Linked DNA regions of Homo sapiens: all the other regions are linked to region 3. Evidence: promoter capture Hi-C in human tissues and cell types (Jung and others, 2019). All regions are on one chromosome and are shown on one strand. Each heading gives the region's core, a stretch centred on a gene start or on the middle of the fragment in contact. The rest is flanking DNA. Distances are from core to core; before and after follow the strand shown.

The links. Contacts are between HindIII fragments. The study calls those that stand out against the background at their distance.
Region 1: the fragment with the promoter of TLE6 here is called in contact with a fragment that was not itself captured in region 3 in 1 of the 25 tissues and cell types used here (dorsolateral prefrontal cortex).
Region 2: a contact is called between the fragment with the promoter of GIPC3 here and a fragment that was not itself captured in region 3, in 2 of the 25 tissues and cell types used here (dorsolateral prefrontal cortex and pancreas).

What each region holds. Positions count from the first base shown.
Region 1 is chr19:2,975,750-2,979,692 of GRCh38, reverse strand. It overlaps TLE6 (TLE family member 6, subcortical maternal complex member), which reads right to left and starts at 2,129. Exons shown (of 17, transcript NM_001143986.2): 1 at 2,083-2,129; 2 at 1,409-1,495. The coding sequence starts at 1,459. RefSeq lists a silencer at 2,098-2,407. The HindIII fragment of the contact is 31,192 bases long and covers 1-3,943 here.
Region 2 is chr19:3,583,979-3,587,665 of GRCh38, reverse strand. It overlaps GIPC3 (GIPC PDZ domain containing family member 3), which reads right to left and starts at 2,188. Exons shown (of 6, transcript NM_133261.3): 1 at 1,844-2,188; 2 at 986-1,171; 3 at 672-852. The coding sequence starts at 2,068. The HindIII fragment of the contact is 10,668 bases long and covers 1-3,687 here.
Region 3 is chr19:3,304,857-3,308,791 of GRCh38, reverse strand. LOC105372244 (a long non-coding RNA gene) reads left to right here and starts at 1,890. Exons shown (of 3, transcript NR_187753.1): 1 at 1,890-1,943. The HindIII fragment of the contact is 7,399 bases long and covers 1-3,935 here.

The sequences.
Region 1 (3,943 bases), core at 880-3,379, 330 kb after region 3:
CTGGAATGACAGGCATGAACCACCGCGCCCGGCCTCTCTTATTTCAGTAAAGAGCATCTTCCATTTTGCACTTTGGCCTAAAGTCTAAAATGTTCACCACATTCTTGTGATGAAAATAGAAGCACAAAATATTTTTAAAAATAAAAGTCCGGGCAAGGTGGCTCATGCCTGTAATCCCAGCACTTTGGGAGGCCGAGGTGAGCAGAACACCTGAGGTCAGGAGTTTGAGACAACCCTGGGCAACTCAGCAAAACCCCGTCTCTACTGAAAATACAAAAATTAGCCGGGCGTGGTGGCGCGCACCTGTAATCCCAGCTACTCGGGAGGCTGAGGCAGGAGAATCACTTGAACCTGGGAGGTGGAGGTTGCAGTGAGCCGAGATCGCGCCACTGCACTCCAGCCTGGGCAACAAGAGCAAGACTCAATAAAATAAAGTCTCTTGGCCAAGTGTGGTGGCTCACACCTATAACCCCAGCACTTTGGGAGGCTGAGGCAGGCAGATCACGAGGTCAGGAGCTCGAGACCAGCCTGGCCAACATGGTGAAACCCAGTCTCTACTAAAAATACAAGAAAAATTTGGTGGTCATGGTGGCAGGTGCTTGTAGTCCCAGCTACTCGGGAGGCGAGGCAGGAGAATCACTTGAACCCGGGAGGCAGAGGTTGCAGTGAGCTGAGATTGCGCCATTGCATTCCAGCCGAGGTGAGTGTGAGACTCCGTCTCAAACATAATAAAATCATAAAGTCTCAAAACAAAATATCCCTCATCTGACTCCTTTACAAAAAAAAACGTCTGCTCAGCCCTGAGAGCCTAAATTTACAAATGGTCATCTCTGGGACGCAAAGTGCAGGGAGCGGGGATTGCTTGTAAAACATCAACCAAATACATGATGTGTTCCTGTGTTTTTATCACATATGTGATTAGATGCTACATTTTTTTTTAGATGGGATCTCACTGTCACCAAGGATGGAGTGCAGTGGCACCATCATAGTTCACTGCAGCCTCAAACTCCTTGGGCTCAAGCCAACCCTCTGCCTCAGCCTCCCAAGTAGCTGCAACTACAGGCCCACGTCACTAGGCCCAGCTGATTCTTCTAGTTTTATTTTTTACAGAGACAGGGTCTCACTACGTTGTCCAGGCTGGTTTCAAACTCCTGGGCTCAAGTGGTCCTCCTGCCTCGGCCTCCAAAAATGTTGAGATTACAGTTGTGAGCCACAGTGTCCAGCCTACACTTAATTTTTTTTAAAAAACACGGCTCCTTGGCACCTGTCTTGAGTGTAGCAGCGACCAGTATTGTCTTCAGCTGCGAGGCCTGGGCGGGGCCAGCCCAGGTCACAGGTGGAAAAGGGGCAGAACCACATTGGGCCCGGGTTTCCCTTGAGGGCTGATCCCACCACATGCCCTCCTCACCGAAGTGCTTTTCGGGGGGCCCTTGGGTCTGGGCTGGTCCCTAGAGGTCATCTTCAAGGCAGTAGCCTCCAAGACTTTAGCCAGAGTCTAAAACAACAAGGAGACGGCAGGTCTTGAGGGACAGAAAATAAGGCAGTGCCAGGGAAGCAAGGCACCCGTTACCCCACCCGCACCTCCCAGTTTGGTAAGTCTCCAGGGACCCAATCCTGCGGTTCTCCCATGCGTTCCCTAGGTCCTGTCCTCACTTATCAATGCCTCCAGCTGCCCAGATTCATGGGGGCGGGGACCCAGAAAGAACTGAGCCTTGCCTCCCAGGCCTCACCCTAGGAGGCTGGGGTGGATAGTGCACATACACTCCCTGCTGGGGGCAGTCAGGGACGGGGGAGCCCAGGGAAGGTCGCCAAAGCTCAACCTTAGTTTTGAGACAATTTCCTAAAGCGCAGGGAGATCACTAGAAAGGGGTTTTGAAGGATGACTAGGAGTTAGCCAGGTGCATTAGGCGGAATTCATCAGACAGAAGAAACGACCTCTCTCCACCTCCATCCCTGCTGCAGCACCCAGCTTCTTCCTTGCCTCAGTCCTGCCCCTCCACGCCCCTGCAGCCCCTTCCCCGGCCGGGAATCCTGGAGTCCCCCCAGCCCCCTAGAACACGCCTGGCAACTCACGTCCCTCACCGGGCGGAAGCTGCGGAGGTCAGCCAAGTTCAGGCCAAGAGGAAACTCCTCCTTCCCCCACCGGGGGCCATTTGACCCATCGGGCCCCGCCTCGTCCCGCCTTGTCCCCGCCCCGTCCCGCCCAGGCCCCACCCAGCCGCCACCTGGACCGCGAAGCAGATCAATGAAGGCGCAGTAGCTGCACGTGGGTTCGGGCTCCGGGGGGGGCAGGCCTCTGGCGGCGCCGGCCAATAGCGAGGCCGTTTACGCACGTGGGTCGCGTACGCCCTCCCTGATTGGTCGGCTCTCCCCGGCCGCCGGCCATGCTGTCACTCAGCGAGCCGGGAGCCTCTGCTTTACCCTTTCGGTCCCGCTGCCGGGAAGGGCGGACTTGCAGAGCTATAGGCAATTTGGGGTCCCAGCGGGGGCGGGGATATTTAGGAGGGCGTGGGGCTTGAGGCTCAGAGGCTGGAACTTGGGCAGGGATAGGTGGCGAGTAGTTGCATTGTTTTACGCATTTTTAGCCTTGTCCGGAAGTGGCTTATGGCTGGAGGTGAGGAGTGGGAGGTGGGTGGGTTCAATCTTTAGCGCTGTCACCCCAATTCTTAGATACGGGCTAATTACATTTTCCTCAATATTAAATAACGTGCAATGCAAACGAAGCTTCAAGTCCTCTTTCTGGAGCCAACTTACTGGGTCCCCTTGATGGTCCCAGCCCCGGGCTATGCATTTATCACCGAATTTTCCCAACTGCTCTTCCAGCCCAGTGACAAAGGCTCTGAGAGCAGAAAGCGGGACAGCAGAGGCCCTGAGGCTGATACAGTATTGCCGGATGCAAGCGCGGGGTGGGAGAGAGTGGTGGGTATTCCAGACGGAGGGAATAGCGGAACCTCTCAGGCAGAGCTGGGCTGGTTACAGGAGCAGCCAGGGAGGCTAACGGGGCTGCGTGCACTCCGAACAGGCCTGGGATGATTTCCGAGAGGTAAGTGGGTTGCTGCAGAGCGAGAGAAACCTGCTGTGTGGGGTCGTGGGGATAGGAGTAAGGGGATTTCGGAGTTTTGTTTTGGCCTATTCAAAATATGAAGCCAAGTCACCATGGCTCACACCTGTGATCCCAGCATTTTGGAAGGCTGAGGTGGGAGGATTGCTTGAGGCCAGGAGTTGGAGACCAGCCTGGGCAACACAGTGACACCGCGTCTCTACAAAAAATTTAAAAATTAGCCAAGTGTGGTGGTCATGCACCTGTAGTCTCAGCTACTGGGGAGGCTGAGGCAGGAGGATGGCGTAAGCCCAGGAGGTTGAGTCTGGAGTGAGCTATGATCGTGCCACTGCACTCCAGTCTGAGCAACAGAGCAAGACTCCATCTCAAAAAAATATATAGCTATAATATATATAAAGTATATATATTATATATATAGTGGTCAAGCTGCAGTTCTGGAGTGAGAGCCCGTTTCTTTCTGTTTGGCCCAGGACCTGGTACTGGCATTAGCAGTTCACTCTGCCAGGGACAGTCTCTCTCAGACAGCCACCGGCTGGCTCCTTACTCCCTCAGCTCCCTACTTAGAAATCACCACGTTGGGCCAGGTGCTGTGGTGCACGCCTGTAATCCCAGCACTTTGGGAGGCAGAGGTGGGTGGATCATCTGAGGTCAGGGGTTCGAGACCAGCCTGGCCAACATGGTGAAACCCCAGCTTGGCCGGGTCACACCTGTAATCCCAGAACTTTGGGAGGCCGAGGCGGGTGGATCACGAGGTCAGGAGATCGAGACCATCCTGGCTAACACGGTGAAACCCCATCTCTAATAAAAAATACAAAAAAATTAGCCGGGCGTGGCGGTGGGTGCCTGTAATCCCAGCTACTGAGGAGGCTGAGGCGGGAGAAT
Region 2 (3,687 bases), core at 939-3,438, 280 kb before region 3:
AAAGAAAAGAAAGAAAACTTTTTTCTCATATTCTCATTCTCTACAATCCACCATGACCTCAAAGCACTGCTTTAAAAGTTCCCAGGCTGCGCGCGGTGGCTCACGCCTATAATCCTAGCATTTTGGGAGACTGAGGCGGGTGGAGCACTTGAGGTCAGAAGTTCGAGACCAGACTGGTCAAGATGGTGAAACCCCGTCTCTACTAAAAATACAAAAATTAGCCAGGCGCAATGGTGGGTGCCTGTAGTCCCAGCTACTCGGGAGGCTGAGGCAGGAGAATCGCTTGAACCCGGGAGGTGGAGATTGCAGTGAGCTGAGATCGCGCCATTGCACTCCAGCCCAGGCAACAGAGTGAGACTCCGTCTCAAAAACAAACAAACAAACAAACAAACAAAAACAAGTCTCCCAGCCTGGCTCCAAAGTGGTTCTGGACGCGTCCTCCTCCAACTCCACTTTACCCAGTCTCTCCCCCACCCCTCCCCCACAGGCTGACTCCATAACAATCTATTAATAGAAACTACCTACGAGTTTCTGATACCCTGCCAGGAGCTCCTTGGCACGCAGCGGGTGCACCTAGAACCTTCCAGCCCGTCCCATCCCCGACCCTCCTCCACCCCAGGCATCCGTAGAACGCACTTCGGGAAGAGCTCCCGCCAGCCCACCCGCCTCACCGAAGGCCCTCTTGGGCTGCACCAGGCGCAGGGTGAAGGGCTGGGACTTGGGCAGCTCCCGGAGCATCTTGGCCACCTCGTAGTGGCGGCAGCCCACAATGGAGTGGTCGTTGATGGCTTCGATGCTGTCACCCACGCACACTGCCTCGATCCGGTTGATGATACTGCCTTCCTTGATTCTCTGCAGGGATCCAGCGTCGCTGGCAGGGCAACCCCAGCCACCCGCCTCCAATCCGCAGAACCCACGTCGACCCAGAGTGGGGGGGGCAGTTGCTGGACCCCAGGAAGCCACCCGCCCACCCCCTCCCGGGCACCTTGATGAAGGCGTAGCCAGCCCCGTTGTCCGTGATGGTCAGCCCCAGAGCATCCTCTGTCTTAGTGACCTCCACCTCCTTGGTCTCGCCTCGCACGTGGGCAAAGATGAAGTCCTCCAGGCCTATCTGACCCCCCAGGAGCTTCTGCATGTCCACTTTGTGGCTGTTGAGGGTGCAGAATAAAATCTTCCCGGGGGAGAAGGAGCCTAGAGTTAGCCAGGGCATGCATCCCCCCACGCAGCCACCCTGTCTGCGCAGGCCCCTGCCCCCAGCGACCAGGATCCCAGCCCATGGGAAAGGGCAGGGCGTGGGACCCCCAGAACAGAGAGAGGAGGGAGAAGGAGACTTCCAGCAGGTGGAGACCCCTCTCCATACCCCGGGACCTCCAGCCCCCAGACCTCCAGGTTTAATCTGCTGGCGCCCCCTGGGGGCTGCAAACCAAACGAACCCGGATTGGAAAAACGCCCAGGAACCCCCCAACCCCACGGCGGCCTCAAACTTCCCATCCCTAAGGGGGCCATCTGGAACCCCAGACCCCAGCTACGCCCAGGAAGCACAGAGGCGCTTCCCCGAGGGCTGGGGTCCGCTCCAAGCTAGGTCTGCGCAGAGGATTTTCTGGAATATCTAGGGGTCCGCTAGTCCTAAGACCTGCCCATCTTTTGCGCAGAGCGTGCAAAGGGGGCCCCTGGGAGTGTGGCACCCCGGGATCTGAGGGCTGGGTCTCTGAGATCCGGCGATTAGGCGGCCACCCCGACGTCTGGGATCCGGGGATCTGGGGTCTCCCGTCCAGGGTCCAAGCTCCCTACCCCTCACCCCATCAGGCGGGTGGTCTTGGGCGCCGGTGTCCGGGCTCCTTACCTCGGTGGGCGCGATCCCGAAGGCTTCGGCGATCTTGGCGTACAGCTCGCGGACGTTGGTGAAGCCCTCGATCTTGCCCGTGGGGCTCCCGTGCGCCAGCTGCGTGCGGAAGACGAGGCGCGGGCGGGCGCGGGGCGCGGCCGGGGGCTCCGAGGGCGCGGGCGGGGGCGCAGACGCGCGCGGGGTCTCGGTCCCCCGGGCCTCCCGGGCCGCTGCTCCCTCCATGGCGGGAGAAGTTCGGCCACCCACCCGGGCCCTCGCCGCCGCCGCCGGATCCGCCGCTTCCTGCAGCCTCCCCTCCCCCGGCCCAGGGCGCGACAGCCGAGACGCCCGGGTAAGGGGATCTGGGAACCCGAGCCTCCCGGGAAGGCGACACCGCGGGGTGCGCAGGGGTGGGTCGGGCCCCAGGTGTCCGGGCCCTGCCAGGGCCAGCTGTGCCCTCCCCGGGGATACCCGCAGTCCGGGGGGGCCTGAGCTCAGGACCCTGGAAGAACAGGGACCACAAATAAGGACAGGGACAGGCCTGGAGCGGTGGCTCACGTCTGTAATTCCAGCACTTTGGGAGGCCGAAGCGGGCAGATGACCTGAGGTCAGGAGTTCAAGACTAGCCTGGCCAACATGGTGAAACCCCGTCTCTACCAAAAATACAAAAATCAGCCGGACGTGGTGGCGGGCGCCTGTAATCCCAGCTACTCGGGAGGCTGAGATCTCTTGAACCCGGGAGGCGGAGGTGGCAGTGAGCTGAGATGGCGCCATTACACTCCAGCCTGGGCAACAAAGCGAGACTCCGTCGCAAAAAAAAAAAAAAAAAAAAAAAAAAGGACAGGGACAGCTGAGGGTGCTGGAGCACTCACCCTCTGCTAGGCGAGGTCATTGTTTTATTTTATTTTATTATTTTTATTTATTTATTTATTTTGAGCTGGAGTCTCGCTCTGTCACCCAGTTTGGAGTTCAGTGGCACGATCTCAGCTCACTGCAACCTCTGCCCACCAGGTTCAAGCAATTCTCATGCCTCGGCCTCCCCAGTAGCTGGGATTACAGGCATATACCACCATGCCCGGCTAATTTTTTTGTATTTTTAATAGAGATGAGGTTTCACCATGTTGGCCAGGATGGTCTTGAACTCCTGACCTCAGGAATCCACCCACCTTAGCCTCCAAAAAAGCTGGGATTACAGGCATGAGCCACCACGCCCAGCCTTTGGTTTGTTTGTTTGATTTTGGAGACGGAGTCTAGCTCTGTCGCCCAGGCTGGAGTGCAATGGCGTGATCTCGGCTCACTGCAACCTCCACCTCCTGGGTTCAAGCGATTCTCCTGCCTCAGCCCCCCTAGTAGCTGGGATTATAGGCGCACACCACCATGCCTGGCTAATTTTTGTATTTTTTAGTAGAGACAGGGTTTCACCATGTTGGTCAGGCTTGTCTCGAACCCCTGACCTCAGGTGATCCACCTGCCTTGGCCTCCCAAAGTGCTGGGATTACAGGCGTGAACCACCGCACCCGGCCGCATTCAGTTTTTTAAAATTTAATTTAGAAACATGATTAATTTTTTGTACAGTTGGGATCTCACTGTGTTGCCCAGGCTGGTCTCAAACTCAAGACCAGGAGGTTCAGGCCATCCTTCAGCCTTGGCCTCCCAAAGTGCTAGGATTACAGATGTGAGCCACTGTGCCCAGCTTCTCTTCAGCATTTAAAGCTACCATCTGACATATCAGATATTTTATTTTATTTTATTTTTTGAGACGGAGTCTCTCTCTCTTGCCAAGGCTGGAGTGCAGTGGCACGATCTCGGCTCACTGCAACCTCTGCCTCCCGGGTTCAAGCGATTCTTCTGCCTCAGCCTCC
Region 3 (3,935 bases), core at 516-3,015:
CAAGCCTGAAGCCTGCTCTGTTTGTAAAAAAAGAAAAGCAAGAATTAGAGAGGTGTTAAAGACAGGTTAAGAGCATCCAAGAGCTGCAGGTGAAGAGCAAGTGATCTAACACAGGTGTAATTGGAATCCCACAGGAGAAGGAAGACTAGGGCAGCTGATTGTTTTCAGAGAATAGCCAATAATTTTCACAGATCCATGAGGCTCAGAAAACACCAAACAGAATAAATATCCTCTAAGAGACATACCCAGACATATATTCAAAATGCAGAAAATTGGCTGGGCGTGGTGGCTCACGCCTGTAATCCCAGCACTTTGGGAGGCTGAGGCAGGCAGATCACGAGGTTAGGAGATCGAGACCATCCTGGCTAACACAGGGAAGGTCTTGCCAGCCTTATAGGTCACAGGGAGGCTTTGACCCAGAGGAAGGTGGGAGCCTTGGAGTGCTGTAGGCAGAGGAGGGACAGGCCCTAACTCGGGTGCTCACAGCCCCCCTCTGGTGGCTGCTGCAGGGAGGACAGACTGTGTGGCAGAGGGTGGAGCCTAGGACCAAGGCAGAGGCAACTGCGCCAGGTCCAGGTGGGCAACGATGGGGCTGGACCCAGGCAGAGGAACAGGAAGAAGTGAGCGTTTGAGGATGGAATAGTGAGGGCAGGGGCGACAGGACCTGCTGATAGATTGGAGTTGAGCAAGAAACAAAAGATCCAGGATAGCGTTGATATTCGGCTCCAGCACCCGGAAGAATGGAACTGCCGGGCCGGGCGCGGTGGCTCACGCCTATAATCCCAGCACTTTGGGCGGCCGAGGCAGGCGGATCACGAGGTCAGGAGATCGAGACCATCCTGGCTAACACGGTGAAACCCCGTCTCTACTAAAAATACAAAAAATTAGCCAGGCGTGGTGGCAGGCACCTGTAGTCCCAGCTACTCGGGAGGCTGAGGCAGGAGAATGGTGTGAACCCGGGAGGCGGAGCTTGCAGTGAGCCGAGATCGCGCCACTGCACTCTAGCCTGGGCGACAGAGCGAGACTCCGTCTCAAAAAAAAAAAAAAAAAGAATGGAACTGCCATCAGCTGAGATGCAGACGACGAGGGAGGAGCAGGATTGGGGACCAAGGACAGAGTGTTGTCCTGACTAGCAACCCCTTAGCTGTCAGAGATTAGGGCTGAGTTCATTTGAGGCTTTGATGGAGGACAGACAGGCAGAGAAAGCTCAGACCCTTGTCCCCAGTCATCCTGCATGGGAGCCCCTGCGACCAGAGCCGGGAGCTGTCCGCGACCCCCGGTGCTGAAGCTCCCATTCTAAGCAGGAACTCCGGAGCCCCCGCTGGAGTAAAGTGTCTGACATGTAGTGAACGCTCAAAACGTATCCCTGAATTTCACCCAAGGTGGCAAAGCGATTTCAGCGTCATCGTACTGCGCTGGTTTCTATGTCCCGCACGCCCCAACCTGTACTTTACGGATATGCAAACTGAGACCATGAGAGGTTGCTGCACCTTTAAAAATCACGCAATGCATCACTTTATTATTATTATTATTTTTTTTGAGACGGAGTCTGGCTCTGTGGCCCAGGCTGGAGTGCAGTGGCACGATCTCCACTCACTGCCACCTCCGCCTTCTGGATTCAAGCGATCCTCCTGCCTCAGCCTCCTGAGTAGTTGGGATTACAGGCACTCGCCACCACACCCGGCTAATTTTTGTATTTTTAGTAGAGACGGGGTTTCACCATATTGGCCAGGCTGATCTTGAACTCCTGACCTCGGGTGATCTGCCCTCCGCGGCTTCCCAAAGTGCTGGGATTACAGGCATGAGCCACGGCGCCCGGCTACGTAATGCATCACTCTTGACGTCACAATCAGCTAGGCTCTGAAGACAAATCCGAGTTCAGGCTGTGGATTGGCTGATCCCTCATGAATATGTAGATTACTCTCACCCTTCACCTCGCTCTGGTAGGTTCAGAAAAGTGAGGGGGTGGAGAGGAGGCGGGGCTGGGGGCGGGGCTGGAAACTGTTCCTGTGAGGGTTGGGGCAAGTAGTGGGGCGGGGCCAGGGACTATGGACGTGGTCAGAATTTTTGTACATTTCGTTCCCTGCCTTCTCCCCAGTACCTTTCTACAACAGCTCCTAGTACCCAGTAGGTGCTTCATAAATGTTTATTGACTCTGGATTCCAGTAGGAGTGATGCCTGAGAGTTCACTTTTCTGACCGGGGAGAAGGTCCTATTTTGCCTATAATGTGATAGTATCATTGGTATCATTCATCTTGATCTGCCCAGTTCTGGATGTTTGCATAATAACCTGAGCCCAGGCCGGGCGTGGTGGCTCACGCCTGTAATCCCAGCACTTTGGGAGGCCGAGGCGGTTGGATCAGGAAGGCCGAGGCGGGCGGATCAAGAGGTCAGGGATTCGAGACCAGCCTGACCAATATGGTGAAACCCTGTCTCTATTAAAAATACAAAAATTAGCCGGGTGTGGTGGCGCGCACCTGTAATCCCAGCTACTCGGGAGGCTGAGGCAGCAGAATCTCTTGAACCTGGGAGGCGGAGGTTGCAGTGAACTGAGATCGCGCCACTGCACTCCAGCCTGGGTGACAGAGTGAGACTCCGTCTCAAACAACCAACCAAAAATTATGTGTATACACACACACACACACATACACACGTATATATACATATATACACACATATACATTATATGTATATACACACATATGTATGTGTATATATATATATACACACACACACACACACACACATATATATATATATATCTCATGAGCCCCGTCTTACAGATGAGGAAACTGAAGCTTGGAGAGAGAATGCAAGGCTTAAGGGCATGCATGTCTTAAGTCAATCAGCAAATATTGAGGACCCAGAGGTGAGGAACTCCAGCTCCCTTGGTCGGGACTCAGCTCCTATTTGGCCCTCAGTTTTACCCCCACACATCCTGCTTCAGTCCTCTGTGTGGTTTCGAGGCCACAGTTGAGGGGCTCTCTGTTTTCTAACTCGGACCTAGGTAATTCCTACTTTTTTTTTTTTTTTTTTTTTTTTTTTTTAGACGGCGTTTCACTCTTGTCGCCCAGGCTGGAGTGCAGTGGCGCAATCTCGGCTCACCGCAACCTCCGCCTCCCAGGTTCAAGCGATTCTCCGGCCTCAGCCTCCTTAGTAGCTGGGATTACAGGCATGCACCACCACACCCGACTAATTTTGTATTTTCAGTAGAGACGGGGTTTCTCCATGTTGGTCTGGCTAGTCTCGAACTCCCGTCCTCAGGTGATCCACTCACCTCGGCCTCCCGAAGTGCTGGGATTACAGGCGTGAGCCACCGCGCCCGGCCAGTAATTCCTACTTCTACCCCCACCTTTGCTAACGCCATGCCCTGGGCCTAGCAGGTCACGGGTGTCTCCATCCCAACCCAGCATCTCCGACCTCCAGGGTGGGAACAGAGTGTTCCAGGCTAGGGAAACCGCACGTGCAAAGGCCTGGCAGCCAAACCACATTCAGTTACTGGAGAGAAAAGGGGAGGAGGAGCGGGGCCGACCTTGCAGGCTAGAAAGTTTGCACGGGGCAACTTTTGCGTCCCAGGAGAGAAGCCAGGGAGTCCCCTCACAGTCTCCCTCCGAGCTCAATAAATCTTGCACATTTCAAGCCAAGGCACAGAGCCTGAAAGAAGGCATGGGTTTTTGCTGCCCCCTGCTGGTCGCTGGAGCGAAAGCATCCGGAAAGTAATTTTAAAAAAAAGTCTCATTCTGTCGCCCAAGCTGGAGTGCAGTGGCGGGAACTCGGCTCACTGCAACCGCCGCCTCCCGGGTTCAAGCGATTCTCCTGCCTCAGCCTCTCGAGTAGCTGAGATTACAGGTGCGCACCACCACACCCGGCTAATTTTTGCATTTTTAGTAGAGTTGGAGGGGGGGGTTGCCATTTTGTCCAGGCTGGTCTCGAAC